2 separate regions of the Homo sapiens genome follow, and region 2 is linked to region 1. The links are contacts of gene promoters, found by promoter capture Hi-C in human tissues and cell types (Jung and others, 2019). All regions are on one chromosome and are shown on one strand. The core of a region is centred on a gene start or on the middle of the fragment in contact, and the rest is flanking DNA. Distances in the headings are between cores, read along the strand shown.

Region 1 (5,527 bases), core at 1-2,500:
AAGGAAACTCCTTAAATGCTGTTGACTTAGGAGTTCCGCCAGTGCCCCACCTGCCCAGAGCCTCTTGCCCCAGTGCCCCACCTGGGTTTATGGTGCCCCCCTCCCAGAAATATGAGCTCAGGGGTCAGAAACCCAGGTCCTGAGGTCCCTCCTCCCCAAGGACTCAGGATCCCAGGCCCCCAGTCCCCTCTTCCCTTAAGTTTAAGAAGTCCAGGCCACCACCCTCTTGGGGACCCAGCACCCAACTCACGAAGCGCCCGAAGCGGATGGAGTCTCCATCCTCAATGTGTAAGTCAGCCTGGGCCCCACTAAGGCGGGAGATGACAGACTGGCAGCCAGGGAGGAGGGAACGGAGCAGCCCCGAGCCTGTAATGTGGTCCGCGTGGCAGTGGGTATTCACTGGGAGAGAGAGGAGGGACAGGTCCGGAGGGTACAGAAAGGACCTGGGAGTCCCAGCCCAGATCCTTCTCCCTCAGACTCAGGAGTTCTGGGCCCCAGCTTCCCATTCCACTGACGCTGCAGCCCAGCCCCGCTGGGATCCATGAGTTTGGTCCCCGGACTGACCAGCATAGAGCAGCCGCAGCCCCAGCTCCTTGATCAGCTGGGCATCCCGAGGCGCTGTTTCCAGGACTGGGTCGATCAGAACGGCCTCCCGGGACTCTCTGTCACCCAGCAGGTACGTGAAGGTGCAGCTCACAGGCTCGAACATCTGGGAACGGGGGACCCAGGTGAGGGCGCAGAACCGGACTTCCACCCACTGGAGGCCAAGTAGTCCAGACTGACCCTATCCTCTTCCTAAGATCCAGAAGCAGAAACCCCAGCCCACTCTTTCCCCGGGAGTCGGGAGTCCGGAGCCCCACTACCTTCCCCTATCAGAACAAAAGAGTTCCAACTTCCTAACATCCCAAAATCAGGGTCCCCAGCACGTTCTTTCATAGAGGACCCAGGGGTCTGGCCCCAAGCCCAGAGGCCCCCAGACCACTCACCTTTAAAGGACCCAAGAGTCCAGCCCTAAACCTCCACCCCGCTTTCCGCAAGATGCAGGCGTGGGTCCCCCCGGATCTCTCCCTATTAAGAGACCCCGGAGTTCCGTCCTTGCTGCCGCCTAGTGCCCAGCAGTCCCCTCCTAGGTCCAGCCACCCGCACCTGCCGCAGGAGGATGGGGGCTCCAGACCCGCCGCGCTGGCTCAGCTGCCGCCGGGCGACCCTCAGTACAGCCTCCGCCATCGCGCCCACTGCGGGGTCAGGAATGAGCGGAGGCCGAGCGCCTGCAGGAGCCGGGCGCTACGGCACTGACCCCGGGAAGGGCGGGGCGGGGGCGGAGCACGCCTTAAAGGGGCCACGGACGCCTGGGGCAGAGGGCGGGGGACCGCCGAGCGGGACTGGGGCGAGGGCGAGACCGAGGAAAGCCAGAGTGCAATGCCTGGACGCTTTGAGACCCAGAAAAAACAGAGAACAGGGAGACACTCAAAGTGCGAGGGACAGACGCTCAGAGACACACAGACATACTCATGTAGGAACAGAGATAGGGAGAGAAGTAGAAACCCAGGGAGAGGCCCCAGTACACTCATAGCCTCGGGGCCGTTTTTTTTCCTTTTTCTTTTGTTTTATTTTGAGACAGAGTCTCGCTCTGTCACGCAGGCTTGAGTGCAGTGACTCGATCTCAGCTTACTACAGCCTTAAACTCCCGGGTTCAAGCGATCCTCCAACCTCAGCCTCCCGAGTAGCTGGGACTATGGCACGTTGCCACCACACCCGACATTTTATATATATATATTTATATCTATATATATATTTATATACATATATATATATACACACACACACACACATACATGTATATAAAATTTGTTTTTTGCAGAGACGGAGTTCTCACTATGTTGCCCAGGCTGATCTCGAACTCCTGAGCTCAAGCGTTCCTCCCACCTTGTCCTCCCAAAGTGCTGGGATTACAGACGTGAGCCACCGCGTCCCGTGGGGCCGTTTTCTAGCAGGTGGTAGGATAGTCATGGTTAGAAAAAGATGTTCGGTTCCGGGAGGCAGAGGTTGCAGTGAGTAGAGATGACGCCACTGCACTCCAGCCTGGGCGACAGAGGGAGACTCTGTCTCAAAAAAAAAAGATATTCGTTCGGTTCCAGGTCATTAATATCTTGAGGGACTTTTGAGTGGGTGCCTGGTTACCAGAACAACACTTGATCCCATTAAAGTTCATCCAGAAATTGCATAAGCATTTTATCAGGAATGTTTCTCTCTTTCCAGGAAGAAATCTTAAAAAAAAAAAAAAAGATAATTTTGCATTATCTCTTGAATAATCAGATTGGGGATTATTCATCTTCTGTTGGGGTGTGAACCTCTGAAAAGAGCTTGTGTTCATTTACACCAAGGACCTGGGGCTGAAAAACTGTAGTCTCAAGTCATGAGCTGTCAGAAAGTCTGCTCTTTGTAATCGTAGCAGTAGTGAGAATAGGACATCCCACTCTCATCTGGAGGATCTATGTCACTTTGTGACATCAGAGCAGCCTTGATTTCCAGCCTAGGGGCAGAGCTTTTTTTTTTTTTTTTAATTGTTAGAATTTTTTTTGTAGAAACAGGGGTCTTGCTATGTTGCCTAGGCTGGTCTCCAGCTCCTGGCCTCAAATGGTCCTCCCACCTGGGCCTCCCAAAATGCTGGGATTACAGGTATGAACCACTGAGTTATCCTGTCCCACAGCTTCTGAGGAGGGGTTTCCTGCAACAACATTTATCTTAATTCTGGAGTTTCCAGGGAATGGTCCCTGGAGCTATTTTCAGAGCAGCCCCTGTGTGAATGCCTTTACACAGAGAAGGCCTGCTTTTCCTTAAGCCTATCAAATTGCTTCATTAAAATTTTATGTGGCCGGCTGGGCGCGGTGGCTCATGCCTGTAATCCCAGCACTTTGGGAGGCTGAGGCGGGCGGATCACGAGGTCAGGAGTTCAAGACCAGCCTGACCAACATGGTGAAACACCATCTCTACTAAAAATATAAAAATTAGCTGGGTGTGGTGGTGCACACCTGTTATCCCAGCTACTCAGGAGGCTGAGGCAGGAGAATTGCCTGAACTCGGGAGGTGGAGGTTGCAGTGAGCTGAGATCGTGCCACTGCATTCCAGCCTGGGTGATGGAGACTCCATCTCAAAAAAAAAAAAAAAAAAAAAAAAAAAGCATATGGCTGAGCTCATGCACAGGCACTTTGAGCACTTTGGGAGGCCTAGGTGGGCAGATCACTTGAGGTCAAGAGTTTGAGACAGCCTGGCCAACATGGTAAAACCCCATCTCTACTGAAAAAAATAAAATAAAATACAAAAAAATTATCTGGGCGTGGTGGGGCACGCCTGTAGACCCAGCTACTTGGGAAGCTGAGGCATGAGAATCATTTGAACCCAAGAGGCAGAGGTTGCAGAGTTTGCAGTGATCCAAGATTGCACCTCTGCAACATAGCAAAACCCTGTCTGGGCAACAGAGCGAGAGTGTCTAAAAAAAAAAGGCCAGGTGCGGTGGCTCACGCCTGTAATCCCAGCACTTTGGGAGGCCAAGGCGGGTGGATCACGAGGTCAGGAGATTGAGACCATCCTGGCTAACACGGTGAAACCCCGTCTCTACTCAAAAAAAATACAAAAAATTAGCCGGGCATGGTGGCGGATGCCTGTAGTCCCAGCTACTCTCGAGGCTGAGGCAGAAGAATGGCGTGAACCCGGGAGGCGGAGCTTGCAGTGAGCCGGGATCGTGCCACTGCACTCCAGCCTGGACGACAGAGCGAGACTCCGTCTCAAAAAAAAAAAAAATTCCAGGCATGAGGTCTCATGCATGCCTGACTCAAGCTAGACAAAGCTGAGGACCCAGAGGTGACTCAGTCTGGCTGGTAGGCGAGAGAGGTAGGGAAAGCAGGTCTGAGACACAGGGAGGTGTAGGGATTTGGGGAACTCAGGGGAGGGAGGAGCCAGGGAAAGGAAGACCCTCAGGCACTCCTTACTGAGAGGGTCCCCCAAATAAGAACTTCTCGCCCCTGGCACCCTTTCCCGTTGTTTTTGCAGAATTTCTAGACCATTTATGTGTCCTTTGAAGACACACCCTAGGCAGGGTTTATAGGCTCAGCTGTGAGATGTTCTAAGAGTTAGACTTGGCTTCACCCTTCTCAGGTGTAGGACCTTGGGCTGAAAACTTATCTTCTTCTGGGTTCCAGTTTTCTTATCTACAAAATGAGGTTGAAAATAGTTCAATAGCCTGACATAGCACAGGCTCTCAATGGGAACTGCCCATCATTATTTTGTCACTATCCTTGACTCCTTCCTACCCTTGCCACCTCCACCCACTTCCAGGCCCTGCTGAGTTAAACTCTCTCTCTTTTTTTTTTTTTTTTTTTTTGAGATGGAGTCTTGCTCTGTTGCCCAGGCTAGAGTGCGGTGGTGCAATCTCAGCTCACTGCAACCTCCGCCTCCTGGGTTCCAGAGATTCTTCTGCCCCAGCCTCCCAAGTAGCTGGGATTACAGGTGCACACCACCACACCCAGCTAATTTTTGTAGTTTTAGTAAAGATGGGGTTTCACCATGTTGGCCAGGCTGGTCTGGAACTCCTGACCCCAAGTAATCCACCTGCCTCAGCCTCCCAAAGTGCTGGGATTACAGGGCCGAGCCACCGTGCCCAGCCAGATTTAACCTATCTTAACCAGGCCACTTTTCTGTTATCACACCCTCTGCCCCATTCAAGGGGCAGCAAAGCATAAATGCAAATTGCCTGGACTGCAGGGCCAGGCTGAGGGATTCAAATCCTGGCTCTGATACTTCCTGGCTGGGATGACCTTCCCCTCCACACTTCATTTTCCTCCTCTGTACAAGGATGATAGTAGCACCTCCTCTTAAAACATTGCTATGGGGATTAAATAAATTAATGCACATAAGGACAGTTTCCAGTGTATAATAAGTGCTAGCAATTAATACTGTAATTAATATATAACAATACCCTCACTGGTCTTCTGGCTTCTACTCTGCCTTCTTAAAATCATGGTTCTTGAAAATAGCTGTGGCCCTAGAGGTTGGGCGCGGTGGCTCACACCTGAAATCCCAGCACCATGGGAGGCCGAAGTGGGCGGATCACCTGAGGTCAGGAGTTTGAGACCAGCCTGGCCAACATGGTGAAACTCCATCTTTACCAAAAATACAAAAAAAAAAAAAAAAATTAGCCAGGCGTGGTGACGGGCACCTGTAATCCCAGCTACTCAGGACGTTGAAGCAGGAGAATCACTTGAACCTGGGAGGTGGAGGTTACAGTGGGCTGATATCTCGCCACTGCACACCAGCTTGGGTGACAGAGCAAGACTCCGTGCAAAAAAAGAAAGAGGTGGGCACAGTGGCTCACCCCTGTAATCCCAGCACTTTGGGAGGCCAAGACGGGTGGATCACGAGGTCAGGAGATCGAGACCAGCCTGGCCAACATGGTGAAACCCTGTCTCTACTAAAAATACAAAAATTAGCTGGGTGTTGTGGTGAACACCTGTAATCCCAGCTACTTGGG
Region 2 (5,527 bases), core at 2,166-4,665, 1.1 Mb before region 1:
AGGCGCCCGCCACCATGCCTGGCTAATTTTTTGTATTTTTAGTAGAGACGGGGTTTCACGGTGTTAGCCAGGATGGTCTTGATCTCCTGAGCTCATGATCCACCCACCTCAGCCTCCCAAAGTGCTGGGATTACAGGCATGAACCACCGCGCCCGGCCAATCAGGGGCTTTTTAACCTTCCCATTTTCCTATAAAGGATCCATGCCAATGTTCAGATATATTTATTGTGCCTGGAACTGGATGTTCTTTTAAAAAGTGAATCCCAGGGATGGCTTCCTAGCAGATTTCCAGGATTCTAATCTTCACTGTCTAAACTGTGGGTTTCCAACCTTGAATACTGATTAGAGTCGCTTGTAGGGCATTTAAAACCTACCAATGCTTGTGCCTTCCCCCAAGAGAGTGTGATTTGATTGATGCATGATGTGGCCCACGCACTGGTTGTTTATGAATGCTTCCAAGGAAAATGGTCATTTTACAGTGGGGGAACTGTAGCCCAGTGCTCAAAGTTAACATCTCCAGTAATCAGAGATACTGACATCTTAGGGCATCCTAATATGATGGATGGAGAAGGCGCAGCATCACCTCTGTAGTATTCTTGCCCAATGTATATAACTTTAGTTTCATCATGAGAAACAACTAGGAAAGCCCAAACCGAGGGTCATTATACAAAATAACTCACCAATACTCTTCGAAAATGTTAAGGTCATGAAGGCAAGAGAAATTCTGAGGAACTGTCCCAGATTAAAGGAAACTGGGAGGACAGAGCAATGAGATGCAATGTCTGATCCTAGATTGGATCCTGGTCCAGAAAAAGAACATTAGTGGGAAGATAAAGGGGATTTGAATAAGGTCTACAGATTCATTCATTGTACAGTATCAGTGATCATTTATTGATTTTGATGATTATACTGTGGTTATCTAAAATGTTAATATTTGGGGAGGCTGAGTGAAAAGTATATGAAGACCCTGACTATTTGTAGAAGTTTTTTGAAAGTCTGAAATTATTTCAGATGAAACTAAAGAAAGGAAAAGAAAGCTTCCAGGTAATTCTACTGAGTTGCCAAAGCTGAAAACCACTTCTCTAAGTTATCTTGCTTAATAATACTGTCAAGAGTAATCTTCCTGGAAATACCATATTGTTATGTTTGTGACCTTTTCAAAGCTTTCCAGTGATTGCTGTCATCTAGGATGAAGTTCCTGCTCCTTAGGCTACCATTTAAAGCCCCCATAGCATGGCCTCAATCTACTCCGTTGATCTACGTGGAAGGACTTAACCTACATTTTACTTTCTCATGCCTGAGCTTATTCTAATTCTTTTACTCCTTCCTATATAATACCCTTGCCTTCCTGTTCAGCCTCCTGAGCTGTTCTTTGTGCTATGGCCCATTTCAGACCCTGTCTCTTCATTGAAGCCTGTATAGTTATTCCTGTTAGAAGCAATCATCCTTCCTTTCTTTGAATTCTGGTAGGTACCGTGATGTGGAGTGAACCACGAGCTTTAGATTCAGAAATATGTGAGTTTGAATCCTTTGACAGTTCCACCTTTAACCAGTTCTGAGATAAGGGACAAGTTTATCAACATCTTGGAATAGAGGGGTAATAGAGTACCTGCATCAAAGGGTCATTGTGACCATTAGATCAGATGCAAACATAAAGGTCCTCAGCACAGCATATAGCAGATTCTTTCCTCAGCACTTTAATAGCTCAGTGGTTCCCAGAAAGTTTGTGGGTGGTGTGAAGGCTCTTATCAAAATTTCCTAAAGAGCCTTTTAAAAATATTTGCACCTGGTCATCACTAAGATGACAGATGCTCTTTAATGGAACTGAATGCTTGGGACTTTAAGAAATGCAACTGAGATTTTTTTTTTTCCCCCTTGGAACACAACTGAGTAAATAAGTGACCTAAGGGCAGAGGAATGTAACCCAAAAGAGGGAGAAGGAGGAACTGGGTTTTTAAGTAGGAAAAAGCTGTGATGCCTTCCACACCCACTCTGTTGCTGTCAGTGAGACAGCAGTGAGGAAGTACCACTCCCTAGTACAACTCCTTAAACCATGAGTCCTGAACAGCCCTTCACTAATCCATTCCCTGTCCAGATGATGTGTACCTGGATGAGTCAGATCCCCATGAGTCAATCATTCTTCTCCGTCTTCAGCTCCTCCATCCTCACCACTCAGTGCTATGTGCTATGGTCTGGCCCCACTTCCCAGGCCATTAGTATTGGCCTAAGAAAGCAAGACTGGGAGGGGCAACTGAGAAGGAAGTCAGAGGCCACTAGGCATGGAAAGAGGCAGGTGGGGCTGTCATTGCTCAAAGGCCACACACTCTGGGTGTGTTTTATGACTGTTCCTGGATTTGAAATCTTTTCCCCTTTGTGATCATTCCAGAGACTCACCCTCCTCCTGCTTCCTTCTCATCACACTATCTGTTCCTAGTGCATCCCTTTTACGGCCAGAGAATGGCTGTACAAATAGTTAACAATTCAGTAAAAGTTACAGCTGAGCACGGTGGCTCACACCTGTAATTCCATCACTTGGGAGGATGAGGAGGGCGGATCACGAGGTCAGGAGTTGAAGACCAGCCTGACCAACATGGTGAAACCCCATCTCTACTAAAAATACAAAAATTAGCTGGGTGTGGTGGCACGCACCTGTAAGCCCAGCTACTCAGGAGGCTGAGGCAGGAGAATTGCTTGAACCTGGGAGGCGGAGGTTGCAGTGAGCCAAGACTGTGCCACTGCACTCCAGCTTGGGCGACAGAGCGAGACTCCATCTCAAAAAAAAAAAAAAATTACTTTTTGGGAGAACTGGGAACCTGGCCTTCCTTTTTGCCAAAAGAGATTGAGGTCCATAAAAGCCAGCTTTTATTCCGGGCTGTGCAGTTGTGAGTGTGGTGTTAGGGAACAGGTACATAAGTGAAGGGTAAGACAGAAAACAAAATGCTGGCTGTTTGTCAAATCCTGAGAGTAGAGGGGACAAAAATCATTCTGAAAGGTGGATGTCATTCAGGACACCTTGGAAATCTTAGGGTGTCCTCGCCCAGATGGGGAGGAGGATGAGGTTAAATTATGGAGTTGAGTGACACTTGGTACATTACTAAACTTCTCTGCTTCAGTTTTTTTTTTTTTTTTTTTTTTTTTGAGACGGAGTCTCACTGTGTCGCCCAGGCTGGAGTGCAGTGGCATGATCTTGGCTCACTGCGCGCTCCGCCTCCCAGGTTCATGCCATTCTCCTGCCTCAGCCTCCGGAGTAGCTGGGACTACAGGCGCCCGCCACCACTCCCGGCTAATTTTTTTTTGTATTTTTAGTAGAGATGGGGTTTCACCGTGTTGGCCAGCATGGTTTTGATCTCCTTACCTCGTGATCCGCCTGCCTCGGCCTCCCAAAGTGCTGGGATTACAGGCGTGAGCCACCATGCCTGGCCCCTGCCTCTGTTTTTTTAATCTGTAAAAATGGGGATGGTGACACTCAGGATTCTTTGAGAGGACTGGAGCTACATGGAAACCCCTTGGGATAGTGCCTGGCGGATAGTGAGTGCTGCATCAGTGTGAGCTATTATAATTATGGGAATAGACAAAGGTGTCACCCGGGGCATCCAGAGTGAGGAGGTATTTTCCAGTCAGAGTCCTGGGAGGCCAGCTGGAGATGAAGCTGGTGAAGGGGGAGGCTTAACCTCCAGGAGTGGAAGGATTGGGAAGGAGTAACTCATGCATAACATTCTGTGAAAATACCTTTACCCAACAGCAGGAATACGCACAGTGGGTGTGGCTTCTGTCACAATTATTGTCCCTGGGGTCTAGGAATGTGAAACCCAAGCCTAGAAACAGGCTTCAGGGGTGCCTTGCAAATTAGCATTCATCTTGCCAAAGGAAAATGTTCATCTTGTTAAAAGAAAGCATTTACGTGCTAAAAGAATCCCTTCTTGTGGCCCAGGTCATTATTTTTGTCTTGGTACTATCCTTTTTTTTTTTTTTTTTTTTTTTTTTTTGAGAAGGAGTCTTGCTCTTTTGCCCAGGCTGGAGTGCAGTGGTGGATCTCAGCTCACTGCAAGTTCCACCTCCCGGGTTGACACCATTCTCCTGCCTCAGCCTCCCAAGTAGCTGGGACTACAGGCGCCCGCCACCATGCCTGGCTAATTTTTTTTGTACTTTTAGTAGAGACGGGGTTTCACTGTGTTAGCCAGGATGGTCTCGATCTCCTGACCTCGTGATCTGCCCACCTCGGCCTCCCAAAGTGCTGGGATTACAGGCATGAGCCACCGCGCCCGGCCTGTACTATCCTTATTTACAAGATGTAAAGAGAAAGACTGGGCTGGGCTCAGTGGATCACGCCTGTAATCCCAGCAGTTTGGGAGGCCAAGCGGGGGCGGATTGCCTGAGGTCAGGAGTTCGAGACCAGCCTGGCCAATATGGCGAAACTCCATCTCTACTAAAAAATACAAAAATTAGCTGGGTGTGGTGGTGTGTGCCTGTAATTCCAGCTACTCAGGAGGCTGAGGCAGGAAAATCACTTGAACCCAGGAGGCGGAGGTTGCAGTGAGCCGAGATCGTGCCATTGCACTGCAGCCTGGGTGACAAGAACGAAACTCTGTCTCAAAAAAGAGACTGAAGAAGAGTGAAATAAGGATATATATGCATTAGCAGGGCAGAATTGGGACTGGTATGTGTACGTTAAGAGGAAGCATGTAAAAATTGTATGTGAACATAAAAAGGACTTCTTGTTTTAAACAGACCTCTCCATATAAATAATGTGGACTGTCTTGAGTAGATAGCAGACTCCATCACAAGAACATTCCAGCAGAATCACAAGAGAATGGATAGTGTGGCCGCTTTCTAAATGGTAGTTTAGAGTGAGCAAATCACTGAAAAGAAAGGAGACCAAGAAGATGGGTGAGGGTGAGAGAGATGGGATGGTGAAAGGAAAAGACTGAAATAAATGTTTACCGAGGGCTCACCAGGTACCAAGCTGTGTGTCTAATGCCTTACACATGTTTTTTTTTTTTTTTTTTTTTTTAAGATGGAGTCTTGCTCTGTTGCCCAGGCTGGAGTGCAGTGACGTGATCTTGGCTCACTGCAACCTCCACCTCCCTGATTCAAGGGATTCTCCTGCCTCAGCCTCCTGAGTAGCTGGGATTACAGGCGTGCACCACCACACCCAACTAATTTTTGTGTTTTTAGTAGAGACGGGGTTTCACCATGTTGGTCAGGCTGATCTCGAACTCCTGAGCTCGTGATCCACCTGCCTTGGACTCCCAAAGTGCTGGGATTACAGGCGTGAACCACTGCGCCTGAACAATGCCTTACACATCTTAATTTACTCTTTTATTGTCATCCTCTGATGGAGTAAGAGTCACCTTTGTGCTGCAAATGAGAAGAAGCTGAGGGAGGCGAGGTGAGTGGTCAGCATCATCCAGCCAGTTCATAGCAGAGCTAGTGTGTTTCACCTCAAAGTTTGTGCTCTTGCCTATGATTCAGACAGAAAAGTGAGACACAGCAGGAAGGCAAGGCAAATTTTTGTTGTGGGTGAAGTT

The links. The method cuts DNA at HindIII sites, captures the fragments that hold promoters and counts their contacts. A contact is called where the count stands out against the background at its distance.
Region 2: a fragment that was not itself captured here is called in contact with the fragment with the promoter of ETHE1 in region 1 in 1 of the 25 tissues and cell types used here (dorsolateral prefrontal cortex).

The regions. Positions count from the first base shown.
Region 1 is chr19:43,525,951-43,531,477 of GRCh38, forward strand. ETHE1 (ETHE1 persulfide dioxygenase) reads right to left here and starts at 1,251. Exons shown (of 7, transcript NM_014297.5): 1 at 1,147-1,251; 2 at 565-709; 3 at 251-399. The coding sequence starts at 1,227. It also overlaps a transcript of ZNF575 not described here. RefSeq lists enhancers at 1-402, 403-907, 423-602 and silencers at 1,213-1,402, 5,205-5,376. The HindIII fragment of the contact is 5,540 bases long and covers 1-5,210 here.
Region 2 is chr19:42,453,764-42,459,290 of GRCh38, forward strand. All of the region lies in intron 1 of LIPE-AS1 (LIPE antisense RNA 1), which reads left to right. Among named protein-coding and RNA genes, the nearest start is that of CXCL17, 14 kb to the left of the region's middle. The HindIII fragment of the contact is 7,822 bases long and covers 1-5,527 here.